2 separate regions of the Homo sapiens genome follow, and region 2 is linked to region 1. Evidence: promoter capture Hi-C in 16 types of primary human blood cells and fetal thymus (Javierre and others, 2016). All regions are on one chromosome and are shown on one strand. Each heading gives the region's core, a stretch centred on a gene start or on the middle of the fragment in contact. The rest is flanking DNA. Distances are from core to core; before and after follow the strand shown.

The links. Contacts are between HindIII fragments. The CHiCAGO score rates a contact against its expected background, and 5 or more counts as called.
Region 2: a contact is called between a fragment that was not itself captured here and the fragment with the promoter of MIGA1 in region 1, in 1 of 17 cell types (non-activated CD4 T cells). The highest score is 5.2, in non-activated CD4 T cells.

What each region holds. Positions count from the first base shown.
Region 1 is chr1:77,775,675-77,782,358 of GRCh38, forward strand. It overlaps MIGA1 (mitoguardin 1), which reads left to right and starts at 3,975. Exons shown (of 16, transcript NM_001416120.1): 1 at 3,975-4,062. It also overlaps the pseudogene RNA5SP21. RefSeq lists enhancers at 1-487, 3,862-3,951. The HindIII fragment of the contact is 6,952 bases long and covers 761-6,684 here.
Region 2 is chr1:75,799,672-75,806,355 of GRCh38, forward strand. It overlaps MSH4 (mutS homolog 4), which reads left to right. Exons shown (of 20, transcript NM_002440.4): 2 at 4,060-4,242. Among named protein-coding and RNA genes, the nearest start is that of MSH4, 6.1 kb to the left of the region's middle. The HindIII fragment of the contact is 2,941 bases long and covers 2,664-5,604 here.

The DNA.
Region 1 (6,684 bases), core at 2,725-5,224:
GACTGGTCTCGAGCTCCTAACCTCAAATGATCTGCTCACCTCGGCCTCCAGGTGTGAGCCACAGTGCCAGGCCTATATTTGTCTTTCTAACATGCCAGGAGGAAATTGAGACATGAAAAGGGTAAGTACCTTGCTGAAGACCACTGTGACATAAAAAATACATATTTGGGCCAGGCACTGTGTCTCACACCTATAATCCCAACATTTTGGGAGGCTGAGGTGGGAGGATCACTTGAGCCCAGGAGTTTGAGACCAGGCCCTGGCAACATAGGGAGACATTGTCTCTACTAAAATTTTAAAAATTAACTGGGCATGGTGGCAAGTGCCTGTAGTCCTGGCCACTCAGAAGACTGAAGCAGGAAGATCACTTGAGCCCAGGAGTTCTAGGCTGCAGTGAGCTATGATCACACTACTTCAGTGCAGCCTGGGCAATAAAGTGAGATCCTGTATCAAAGCAAGAAAGAAAGAAAGAGAGAAAGAGACAAAGAAAGAAAGAAGGAAGGAAGGAAGGAAGGAAGGAAGGAAGGAAGGAAGGAAGGCGGGCGGGCAGGCAGGCAGGCAAACGAGACAGACAGAAGGAAAAGAAACAAAGAAAGAAAAGATATATATTTGCTCTCTGTCCCCAGTCCTGACACAGAGCTCCTAAATCTCTTGGAATTTCCCGGTTGATAGGAGTGTCTTTTTTTCTAATATTCTTGTTGGGCTCCTGGATAGCTTCAGGATAGGGGCTGGTCACCAGCAAATTCAAGCTATGATTAGAAGCTTAAAAATGTTGGCCCCATACCTACCCTATCCTCTGTGGAGGAGAGAGTAGTTGAAGATTGAGTTAATAATCAATTATGGTTACATTGTCAGAGGGTTCAAACCAGAGCGACTCCGTTTTGAGTGCGGGCTAGGAAAATGAGGCTGGGACTTGCTGGGCTGCATTCCCAGAAAGTTAGGCATTTCTAGCTTCTAAACATTTACAGTTAAGGGAACAGATTGATAATGTTTACTAAACAGACCCAGACTTGGGAGTGTCCTGATGTCCCTGATACCTTGAGAGCAAAAGCATTCCTAATTTTGCTTTAAAGATAATAATATTAATTCTTGCAAAATATGGTAATTAAGAAAATTAATCTTTTACCACAAACCCTCGTAGCAGAGCACATCTTCCCATGATCTTTTTTTTTTTAACTCCTCTATAAATGAATATTGTACCTAGAGTGGATGCATTCCTCTTCTTCCTTTTGGGAACGCCCTACTCTGTCTATAGAGTAAGTGGACATTCACCACTTCACTGTCTTAAACTTGCTTTTGCTTTGGACTGTGGACTTGCCCTGAATTCTTTCTTGTGCGAAATCCAAGCACCCTCTCTTGGGATCTGGATTGGTACCCCTTTCTGGTAACAACATTATGAAGCCTCCACAGAAATCCCTGAAGTACGGGGTTCTAAGAGCTTCTGAGTTGGTGAACACATCCATATCCCAAAAAGGTCATACACCCTGATTCCATGGGGACAGAAGTTCCTGCACTTAGGATCCTTCCAGATCTTGTTTTATGTACCTCTTCATCCGGCTGTTCATCTGTATCCTTTGTAATATCTTCTGTTATAAATCAATAGACTGGTTTGGGATGGGAGGAGAAGATTGTGGGAATTCCTGATTTATAGCTGGTTGGTCAGAAGTACAAGTGACAACCTGGGATTTGCAATTGGTATCTGAAGTGGGGGCAGTCTTGTAGGACTGAGCCCTTAAGGGTTTGGTGCATAGTATTGAATTAAATTTAACTGTACAACACCCAGTTGGTAGACACTAAATTAAAGAGTGGAGTTTATAATAAGAAATAATTGGAGACTTGTTTGGTGGGGAAAAACCTCCACACATTTGGAGTCAGAAGTGTTGAAACTACAGAAAAATAGCTTTGTGTTTCTTTTCCTTTAACAATGCATCTAGTAAGTGGCCAAGAAAGGATTCAAACCCAGGCAGTCTGACTTCACAGTTTTGTTTTGATATTATGCAGATAGGATCCCCTAAATTCATTAATGGTTGCTGTAGCATGTATTGCAGTACTTGTACAGAAGAAACAACTGGTAGTACTCCATGAACTCCATTCTCTGGTTTAGTGAGCATTACACGATGGCTTGGTTATCTGGGGGAGGTACTGGCCTTCAGAATTAATCCAGGCTCCAATTTTTTTTTCCTTGTCTCCAATATCAGAAGACATTGAGTCCCCTGTCCTTCTGGTTTAAACCACTACTTGTTTGGTTTTCTTTTACTTGTAGCGAATATGTTAACTAATATATCCAATAATGGCTAAGATTGAGTGCAGTACTCTGCCAAACCAGAAGAAGGGAGGCTTACAGCAAATTACATTTGGTTTATAAACATAAATTAAATGTGATATTTCTATTTTATATATTTTATTATTATTTTGTAGAAATGAGGGTCTTGCTATTGCCCAGGCTAATCTCGAACTTCTTACCTCAAGGGATCCTCCCTCATCGGCCCCACAAAGTGTTGGGATTACAGATGTGAGCCACCTCACTTGGCCTAAATGTGACATATCTTATTCTCATGCTAAAGAATAAACTCTGTACCCACCGTGTAATACTATTTTTCTCATAATGTTTATTGTGGAATTAAGGAGATAATATGGTCTCAGGAAAGTTGTGTTGAGTGGTAGTCATCATCATTACTGCTATTCTCATTACGTTGAATGTTTGGAAGCTGTGGGAAATGGGAAAGAGGAGGAAATTGGGAAAATAAATGAAAATAGCCTTACAAATTTCAGGTTCTTCAAGTCTCAAGAGCTCCATTTACCCTATAAGTGCAAAATATTTTCACATAAAACCCAGTCTGTGGATCGTTAGTTATTATTAATCTAATAATATCATAAATTGGTACTACTATTCTATTTTCCATTTGGTTAAATGGGAATTTTGAAAACAGAATTATTTTGGCTTTTCACCACAAATATGCTCAGCAACTGGAATTCTTAAATCTGCAGTTTTTTTGTTTTGTTTTGTTTTGTTTTGTTTTTTGTTTTGAGACAGAGTCTCACTCTAGTCACCCAGGTTGGGGTGCAGTAGCACTATCTGGGCTCACACAACCTCCGCCTCCCGGGTTCAAGCGATTTTCCTGCCTCAGCCTCCCGAGTAGCTGGGATTACAGGCAGGTGCCTGGCTAATTTTTGTACTTTTAGTAGAGATGGGGTTTCGCCATGTTGGCCAGGCTGGTCTTGAACTCCTGACCTCAAGTGATCTGCCCGCCTTGGCCCGCCAAAGTGCTGGGATTACAGGCTTCAGCCACCGTGCCCCGCCTAAATCTGCAGTTCTGATGGAATGTTTTGACTGAAGACTGAACGTAGAAACAGTACCTTGGGTTTTGTTGTTGTTATTTTTTCCTAACCCGGCCCCCTATTAGTTTACTATGTATTAGAACCTGAGAGAGGTGACTACTCTGCCAATAAATTGCCACATTCAATATTCTTCGGTTGCCTAATTCAGTGGGAAACACAGAAAAAAAGGTAAAGAGGACATGAAATCAATAATAAATGCATCATCTATACCGGATTGGAATGCCTCTTAACACTCATTCATCTGAGGGCTGAGGGCCTGTGGTAGAAGTTCTTAATCTTGTTTTCAGGGTTTTGAAATTGTGTAACTTTTTTTTCTTTAATGTAATGAGCATGTGTATACACATTTTTTTTTTTCCAGGGGAAACCCTCCATAATTTTTACCAGATTGACAACCGTTCTAGATCCCCCGACAGGTTACGAACTACAATACTAGTTTTTTTTTTTTTTTTTTACCGGTTTGTAAAAGGATGCAATTCTTCGAATATAGTTTTTGCATCCACTTGACGAGGAAGGAGCCTCTACCCTAAACAAAAATGGCGGGAGCTGCTTCACACGTAGTCCCTCACGCAGAAAGCCTGGAAGGCCCCCTCCACTTTCTCTCCACCTTCGCACTCCTGACCCCGGAAGGACTCCGCCTTCTCCATGTCAGACTGCTGCTCAGCGCCAGGCATCAGCTGGGAAGCTGGCGTGGGCAGGCCAGCTGTACCTGGCCTGGAGCTCCAGGTACAGGGCCAGGGGCGGGGTGGGGTGGAGAGGCGGGCGGGAGGAAGCGGAGAGTTGAGCGGCCACGCAGTTGGGGCAGAGGCCTCGGGGCAGGGGTGGCGCGGACTCCATCGCTGGCGTTAGCTCTCGGAGTGCCAGGTGGAGCGGCGGAAAGCCAGAGGGTCTACGGCCGTGCCACCCTGAACACCCCCGACCTCGTCTCATCTCAGAAGCTAAGCAGGGTCGGGCCTGGTTAGTACTTGCATAGGAAAGCAGGAGGGTCCCCACGCCAGAGGGAGGCCTGCAAAGGAAGCGCGGAATTGGGATGGGCTCGCCACTGCTCTGAGCCAGAGGAAGGGTCTGGACGGCCGAGCTGGAGGGACCCCCTTTTCTGGTGTTCTTGGCAAAGAAAAAGGAAGACAGCAGAGGAGAGCTCCGCGAGGGGCTGCTGTGGGGTCGGGGGAGAGCGCGCTGGAGGTAGGGCAGCTGGTGAGGTCTCAGGTTCGGCTTGGATGCGGGTGGTTTTGAGCAGGGAGTGGCTTTTGGATGTGAAAGATTACTCTGCTTTGCAGGTGCTTTAAGAGAATAATTTAGCACGGGAGTATTGTGGTGTCAGGTCCTTCTGTAAAGTTGTTAAATTATCTATTTTCCAGAGGGAAGACTCAGCTTGTTTTTGCACAGGACTTTGAAACCTTTATTATTGTTGTTTTATTGTTGTTGTTATTGCAGCTAAACATGTTTGCTCTGTTCAAAGTGTCAGAGTTAGGTTATATAGATTTGTGCTTCACGTCAATTTTCTTTTTGATACTTCAGACTTTCCTTCCTGTTGGATTATAAAGTCAAAGTTGCAGGATAGAATTTTAAGATGTCTAAGAAACTGTTTATGACACTTATTTTTAATTCCCCAGTAGTTGGAATGTAGAGGAGCAAGTAATATCACACAGGACAATATTTTTGGTTATGTTTTATAGATTCCGTCTATAAATTTGAATAATCATGAAACCCCCTTCATGTTTATTTTTATTATGCTTCTGAAAGCAAATGAAATGACTAGTTTTTTGTTTTTTTTTCTTTAGTTTTTCAATGAATAATGATTAGGTTTGGAATCAACTTCCTCAGTAATATTAAATGAAAAAGAATGAGGTAGTTAGAATGCAAAAATAGAGGTTTGTCATAATATTTTTTCTTTTTTCTTTTTTTTTTTTTTTTGAGGCGGAGTCTGGCTCTGTCGCCCAGGCTGGAGTGCAATGGCGTGATCTCTGCTCACTGCAACCTCCGCCCCTAGGGTTCTAGAAGTTCTCCTACCTCAGCCTTCCGAGTAGCTGGGATTACAGGCGCCCGACATCACTCCTGGCTAATTTTTTTGTATTTGTAGTAGAGATGGGGTTTCGCTATATTGGCCAGGCTGGTCTTGAACTCTTGACCTCAACTGATCCACCCACCTCGGCCTCCCAAAATGCTGGGATTACAGGCGTGAGCCACCACGCCTGGCCGAGGTTTGTCATAATCTTTTAAGAATATCTCTGCAGCCAATTAAAGTGTTTGCTTTATTTTCTTTCTATTCTGCTTAAAAATTTGGAATGCTCCATTATAGGGAAAATTACTTTGGGTGAATTACTCAATACGTTTTTTAAATGCAGTAGCATAGATTGCTTAATGATCCAGAATCTAATTAGTAAAAATGTTTCTCAAAATAAAATGTGTTAATATTTAGGGAGGGGGAAGAATAAATGAGCTTCCCCCCACTTCCTTTTTACTGTAGTAATATTAAAAAAGTAATACATGTAGGCAGGTTTTTAAAAATCAAGTATTACAAACAGACTTATAAGGAAAAGCAGTCATTCTTTGCCCAGCTTTTCTATATCCCTTGTCTTATTCTCCAGAGGACCATTTTTCACTTTCTTAACTGTTCATGGTTTCCTCTGTACTTTTTAATCATATGTCTCTATCACAGGTTGTTGACTGAAATAAATGTATGTCAAGTAGAACTAACTATACTGAATCTAAAAGTTGTACTTAGAACACTGGTAGGGGGGATTAAGTTTATACTGCTGTATCCCTAGTAAGGATTAAGGGAAGCATCAGTAGTAGTAACCCACCCTAAGAGGTATTGCTGTGTTTGATTTTAAAGGAAACCACTACTTAATCAGTGGTTTTGACACTTGTCTGAAAACAGGTGGGTATTAACAGAAGGGGATAGTCTATTGGAGTATAGAAAAAGAGAACATAGAAATGTATGCAGAAATGAAGGGCCTAAAAAAGTGTAGCAAATAATTTTTTTTTTTTTTGGTGTAGGCAGGGTTTCACCATGTTTCCCAGGCTGGTCTCGAACTCCTGGGTTCATGGACTCAAGCAATCCACCCATCTCGGCCTCCCAAAGTCACTCCCAAAGTGCTCAGGCATGAGCCACTCACTGTGCCCAGCCGCAAATAAACTTTTATAGAGGGATTGCTGGTAATTTTTATATTCTGTTATGTAATATACAGCACTACCCAAATAAAAGAAATAATAAATTTGGTAGACATAAACATTGTGGTTATTAGAGAAGCCCATTCTCTTGTGCATTAGAGATAATGCTTAGGCGTTTTCTTGGCCTGAATGAAATATTCCTCAGGACTCTTGATTTTTGCACTCATCAGGCAA
Region 2 (6,684 bases), core at 2,884-5,383, 2.0 Mb before region 1:
GGAGAGTGATCTAGGTAGATAAACTTGAATGTAGATATAGTTGTGAGAATTAGATCTGGGAGACAAATTTAACCCAGAGACCCCCCATATTCAACACCAGGTCTCTGGTTTTGGTGACTGGATAGATGGTAGTAGTATTTTCTGATTCTGGGAATTTTGTAGGCAAAGCAAATTTTAGAGGGAAGATGATGAGCTCTGTTATGGACATGCTGAGTGTGAAAAGCCTGTGGGATATCCATATATTTATATTAAGATAATTGAATATAGGAAACTAGAGCTAAGAAGAGAGAAACTTGAGGGAAATATGGATTTGAAAGTTACCAGTATGTTGGGACCACAGCAGAGAATATGAAGACTATATAGCAAAATAGAGGTCAAGGAAGTAGGAGGAGAATTAAGACAAGTGAATGAGTTTCAAGAAAGGGTATATAGTCTAAAAGTAGTCTGAGAACAAGAAACAGCCCTCTCCATCTCCAGTTTCCGCATCTCCAGTTTCTGGCAACCACTCTCTTCCTTAGCTCCCTAAAGCCTAGAAATGCTAATGGAGCACATTTTATGCTGGTTCTACACACGTCTTTATGATAGCACCCCTACACCCTGTCCACACCTTTGTAAATATTCTCTTTATCAAATTATCCCAGTTTGAGTATATCATTGATTCCTGCTGGAACCCATATAATGAAGTTATATTTTACCCTATGGTGAGTATGGGGAGACACATAGGAATTGTAAGAAAGAGAGATACTGATCAGATTTGCTTTTCAGAAAGATTATTGGTGATGATTCGAAGAATAGATTAGAGAGGTGTAATACTGGAAGCAAGGAGAAGAAGAAGTAGGAAACTTGCACAAGGACCAAAGAAGATACAGGCTTAAAATGGGCTGGGAGGAGTAGAGAGGGATTTAAATTTTAGTGATGTTAAAAAAAAAGAATTCTAGCACTCAGTCACTGAGTGTTAGGGTTGATGAAGGAAGAATTGAGAATGTCTCCTAAGCTTATGACTTGAGTGACAAGGGACAAGCTGGTACAATTAACCATACTGGTAATAAAGAATTAATTTTGAGGGAAAGATAGAGTTCACTTTTGGACATTTAGAATGCTGGGAAGATACCTAAAGGTTTATGCCCAAGAGATAGATATAGTGACCTGGAGCTACATTGTCTGATAGAATATTCTGTGATAATAGAAACGTTTCATACTTATGCTGTCCGATGTGGTAACTAGTAGCCGTATGTGGCTTTTGAGCATTTGAAAATGTTGCTAGTGTGACTGAGGAACAGAATTTAAATTGTATTTAATTTTGATTTAGTTAAATACTCACATATGCTGCTTTATTGAACAATGCAGGTATAGAGCTGAGAACGGTTTTTGCACTTTTGAAGGATTAAAGAATCAAGAATATTTTGTGATATTAAAATTATATGAAATTTAGAATTCAATATGTAGAAATAAAGCCATTTTTAATTGAAACATAGCCATTCTCATTTATTTATGTATTATCTATGACTGCTTTTCTATGATAGTGTCAGAGCTGAGTAATTGTGACAGTGATTATATGGCCCACAAAAGCCTAAAATATTTGCCATCTGGTCCTTTATTTAAAAGTTTATGGGCTGGGCATGATGGCTCATGCCTATAATCCCAGCACTTTGGGAGGCTGAGGTGGGCAGATCACCTGAGGCCAGGAGTTCATGACCAGTCTGGCCAACATGACAAAACCCTGTCTCTATTAAAAATACAAAAAAAAAATAGCCAGGTGTGGTGGGCATGCCTATAATGCCAGCTGCTTGGGAGGCTGAGGCAGGAGGATTGCTTGAACCTGGGAGGCAGAGGCTGCAGTGAGCTGAGATTGCGCCATTGCACTCTAGCCTGGGCAACAAGAGTGAAACTCCATCTCAAAAAAAAAAAAAAAAAGTTTATGCTGAGGCATGGTGGCTTATGCTTGTAATCTCAGTGCTTTGGGAGGCTGAAGTGGGAGGATTGCTTGAGGCCAGGTGTTTGAGATCAGCCTGGGCAATGTAGCAAGACCCTGTCTCTATAAAAAAAAAATTAGCTGTGTGTGGTGAGGTGCACCTATAGTCCATAGTTACTCAAGAGGCTGAAGCAGGAGGTTACTTGAGCCCATGAGCTTGAGGCTGCAGTGAGCTGTGATCACACTACTGCACTCCAGTCTGGGCGACAAAGAGAGACCTTGTCTTTATAAGACAGTAAAATAGACTGGGCATGGTGGCTCCCGATTATAATCCCAGCATTTTGGGAGGCTGAGATGGGAAGATCACTTGAGCCCAGGAGTTTGAGACCAGCCTGGGCAACATGGCAAAACCCCATCTCTACAAAAATACAAAAAATTAGCCTGGCATGGTGGCATGAGCCTATAGTCCCAGCTACTCGGGAGGGTGAGGTAGGAGGATTGCTTGAGCCCAGGAGTTCAAGGCTGCATTTAGCCAAGATCACACCACTGAATTCCAGCCTAAGCTACAGAACGAGAGTCTCACATACAGACAAAAAGGAAAAATTAAAAGTTTAGCAACCCCTGGTTTACAGTTTAAGGAGTCGTTACAGCTATATACGAAGGCTTGAGAGTTGTCAGAAAATAGATGTTAATAGAAACAAAGAGGAGAGATGAGATGCCTGGAGATGCATAATGTTGATTTGTGAGGGAAAGCTTAAAAGTATGAAGCCCTGGAGGCCAACAGTTAAGAAGCAGAGGAAAAAGGAGATGGCAAAGGAAACTAAAAGTGGTTTAAAGAGAATTCAAGATAGAGAGTTGTGGAAATCAAAGAGAATAGGTGAACAGAGCCCAAACATTTTAAAATTTTTTTAGAACTTCTATGTGCCAAGAGGCTATGCTAGGTTGTTTATGTACATTATTTAAAAATTTTATGACAATCCTGTAAAATAGGTAATAGCTTACATCAGTAGATAAGTACCTAAATAAGGAACTGAAGCCAATTGAGTCTAAAATGCCATTTGCATAGGGGAGAGAAATTCAATGAAGAAATTAACAGAAGAAGGTTAAAAGAGGTCTAATAATTATTATACAAATGAAACATATGTCTTAGTCTGTATTCTGTTGCTTTTAAAAGAATACTTGAAACTGGGTGATTATCAAGAAAGAAAACATATTTCTTGGAAGTCTGGAGGCTGGGAAGTCCAAGGTCAAAGGAGGCACATTTAGTGAGGGTCTTTGTGCTGGTGGAGTCTCTGTAGAGTCCTGTAGTGGTACAGGGCATCACATGGAGAGGGAGCTGAGCATGGTAGCTCAGGTCTCTCATCCTCTTCTTATAAAACCACCAGTCCTACTCTCGTGATAACCCATTAACCTATTAAATCATGAATGGATTAATTCATTCATGAAGGCAGAGCCCTCATGCCCCATCACCTCTTAAAGGCCCCACCTCTGTCCTGCCACACTTCACTGGGGATTAAATTTCAATGTAAGTTTCAGAGGGGACAGATATTCATACCTTAGCAACACATCTGGTATATTTGAAGATTAAAGGGTAATTTATGATTTTAGCCAGAGTAGTTGCAGTGAACTTGTAGAGGCAAAAGCTATATTAGCATATTTTTGTATATTTATCAATAATGTCATTAATTTTGTTATAATCTGTTTATTTTCAAAAATCATTTTCACATGAAATTTTATAGAAAGTGAACATAGTGGTTGGGTGCGGTGACTCAGGCCTCTAATCCCAGCACTTTGGGAGGCCGAGGCAGGCAGATCATGAGGTCAGGAATTCGAGACCAGCCCAGCCAACATGGTGAAACCCCATCTCTACTAAAAATACAAAAATTCACCAGGCGTGGTGGCGGGTGCCTGTAATCCCAGCTACTCGGGAGGCTGAGGCAGGAGGATCACTTGAACTTGGGAGGTGGACGTTGCAGTGAGCCGAGATCATGCCACTACGCTCCAGCCTGGGCGACAAGAGCAAGACTCTGTCTCAAAAAAGAAAAAAAGAAAAAAAAGGAAAGTGAACATGGTATAAATTATAATGACTAATACATCATTGCATAATTCAAATCTTTAAGAATTGACTGTTAATTTTTCAAATTTAGGTTCATACTTTGGAAACAAAAGAGCTTATGCAGAAAACACAGTTGCATCAAATTTTACTTTTGGTGCAAGCTCATCTTCTGCACGAGATACTAATTATCCTCAAACACTTAAAACTCCATTGTCTACTGGAAATCCTCAGAGATCAGGTTATAAGAGCTGGACACCACAAGTGGGATATTCAGGTAAAATAAGTGGAAGATTAACCTAGATGATGTTTTGAAACTTAAAAGTTTTATAAATTATAAATTAGGGTTATTAAGTTCATTTGAATTTATCTATAACTGATATGAATGAAAAATAAATACATTAGTTTACCTCTATCCATAATTTGAGTCTAGATTAATAAGGCAACATAGTTTCTGAAATTGTTTGTTAATAAATGTAAGTCTACATTATTTTAACCATTCTGACAAAAAAACACACAAGAAAGAGAAACCTCTCCCTTTTATACATGATGGCATTTAAATCTAAAAGTTGACCCTGATATTACTAGTGAGTGGTTTTTTTATACTTAAATTTTAATTTTTATCTAAATCTATGAGATTTTCTTGAAGAGTAGATAGATAAAATAGGTTTTCATGTATAACAGTTTTCTAAGGTATATACAACAGAATTTCTTGGTTACAGGGTAAGTTATGTAAATGCATATATTTATAAGATAATGACAAATTATTTTTTAAAGTAGTTCTACCAAAGTATAAATGGTAGTTAAGTTTATATTAGATCTACAGAAGTCAGTTTTAGCTCTGTAGTAGAATATGACCTTCCTTTTTTTTTTTTTTTTTTTTTAATTTTTTGAGACAGAATCTCACTGTGTCGCCCAGGCTGGAATGCAGTGGTGTGATCTCGACTCACTGCAATGTCTGCTTTCCGGGTTCAAGTGATTCTTCTGCCTCAGCCTCCTGAGTAGCTGGGACTACAGGTGCTTGCTACCACGCCCGGCTAATTTTTGTATTTTTAGTAGAGATGGGGTTTCACCATACTGGCCAGGCTGGTCTCGAACTCCTGACCTCATGATCCACCCACCTTGGCTCCCAAAGTGCTGGGATTACAGGCATGAGCCACTGTGCCTGGCTGACCTTTTTATTTACTTTTATTTTTATTTTTATTTGTTTGAGATGGAGCCTTGCTCTGTCGCCCAGGCTGGAATGCAGTGGCACAACTTGGCTCACTGTAACCTCTGCCTCCTGGATTCAAGCAATTTTCCTGCCTCAGCCTCCCGAGTAGCTGAGATTACAGGCATGCACCACCACGCCTGGCTAATTTTGTATTTTTAGTAGAGACAGGGTTTTACCATATTGGCCAGGCTGGTCTTGAACTCCTAACCTCATGATCCGCCCACCTTGGCCTCCTAAAGTGCTGGGATTACAGGTGTGAGCCACCGCACCCAGCCCTGACCTGTTTATTTTTAAGTAGAAAATAAATACCAAGTTCCAGTGGAAATTCAATAGACATATAAAAGACATCTCTAAGGTTCTAAAAATACATTTATGCTGTTATCTCTCTGTTGTAAATAACATAATAATGAGCATCCTAATACATAAAGCTTTTTTCTGAGTCTCTTATTATTTCCTTAAAACACACCCTTAGAAGTCAAATTACTGAAACATAGGGAAATTACCTTTTTTATTTTTTTTAATTACCATTTTTTGTTTTTTTTTTTTTTTGGTTTTTGAGACGAAGCCTTGTTCTATTGCCCAGGCTGGAGTGCAGTGGCACCATCTCGGCTCATTGCAACATCCACTTCCTGGGTTCAAGTGATTCTCCTGCCTCGGCCTCCCGAGTAGCTGGGATTACAGGCATGCATCACCATGCTCAGCCAATTTTTTTTTTTTAGTAGAGATGGGGTTTCGCCATGTTGGCCAGGCTGGTCTCGAACTCCTGGCCACAAGTGATCCTCCCACCTTAGCCTCACAAAGTGCTAGGATTACAGTTATGAGCCACTGCGCCTGGCCAAAATTACCAGTTTTTAAGAATCTCAGATATATTGCCAAGTTTCTTTTGAGAACTGGACTAATTTTTAATTCCATCAATAGTGTATAAGGTAAGCCAATCTTACTCTATCCTCATCATTACTAACTTCTAAAATTTATTATGATTATTGGCTAATTTAGTAATCATCATCATCATCATAAGATTATTATTAAATTAGCCAATAATCATTATCATAATAAATTGTATTGGTTAATTTATTGGTTATTATGGTATGCTCTTATTAACAATGTGTAAGAGTCCACTTCAACATTTGATATTGTTAGACTCAATATTTTCCAACCTAACAGTTGTAAAATACTACCTGAGTTTTTTATTTTCTGAGTTTGCATTTTCCTGATTACTAGTGAGATTATCTTTTTCTGTACTTTTGGGCTATATATCTTTAATAATGGTCTGTGAAATTAATGTTCATGTCTTTTACTCATTTTTCTTTAGGCTTATTTTTCTGGATTTGTAGCAATACTTTATATATTCTGAGTAATAAATATTTTGATGACTTTTCTGTTTGGTTTTTTTTTTTTTTTTTTTTTTTTTTTTTTGAGAAGGAGTCTCGCTCTGTAGCCCAGGCTAGAGTGCAGTGGCGCGATCCCGGCTCACTGCAAGCTCCGCCTCCCGGGTTCACGCCATTC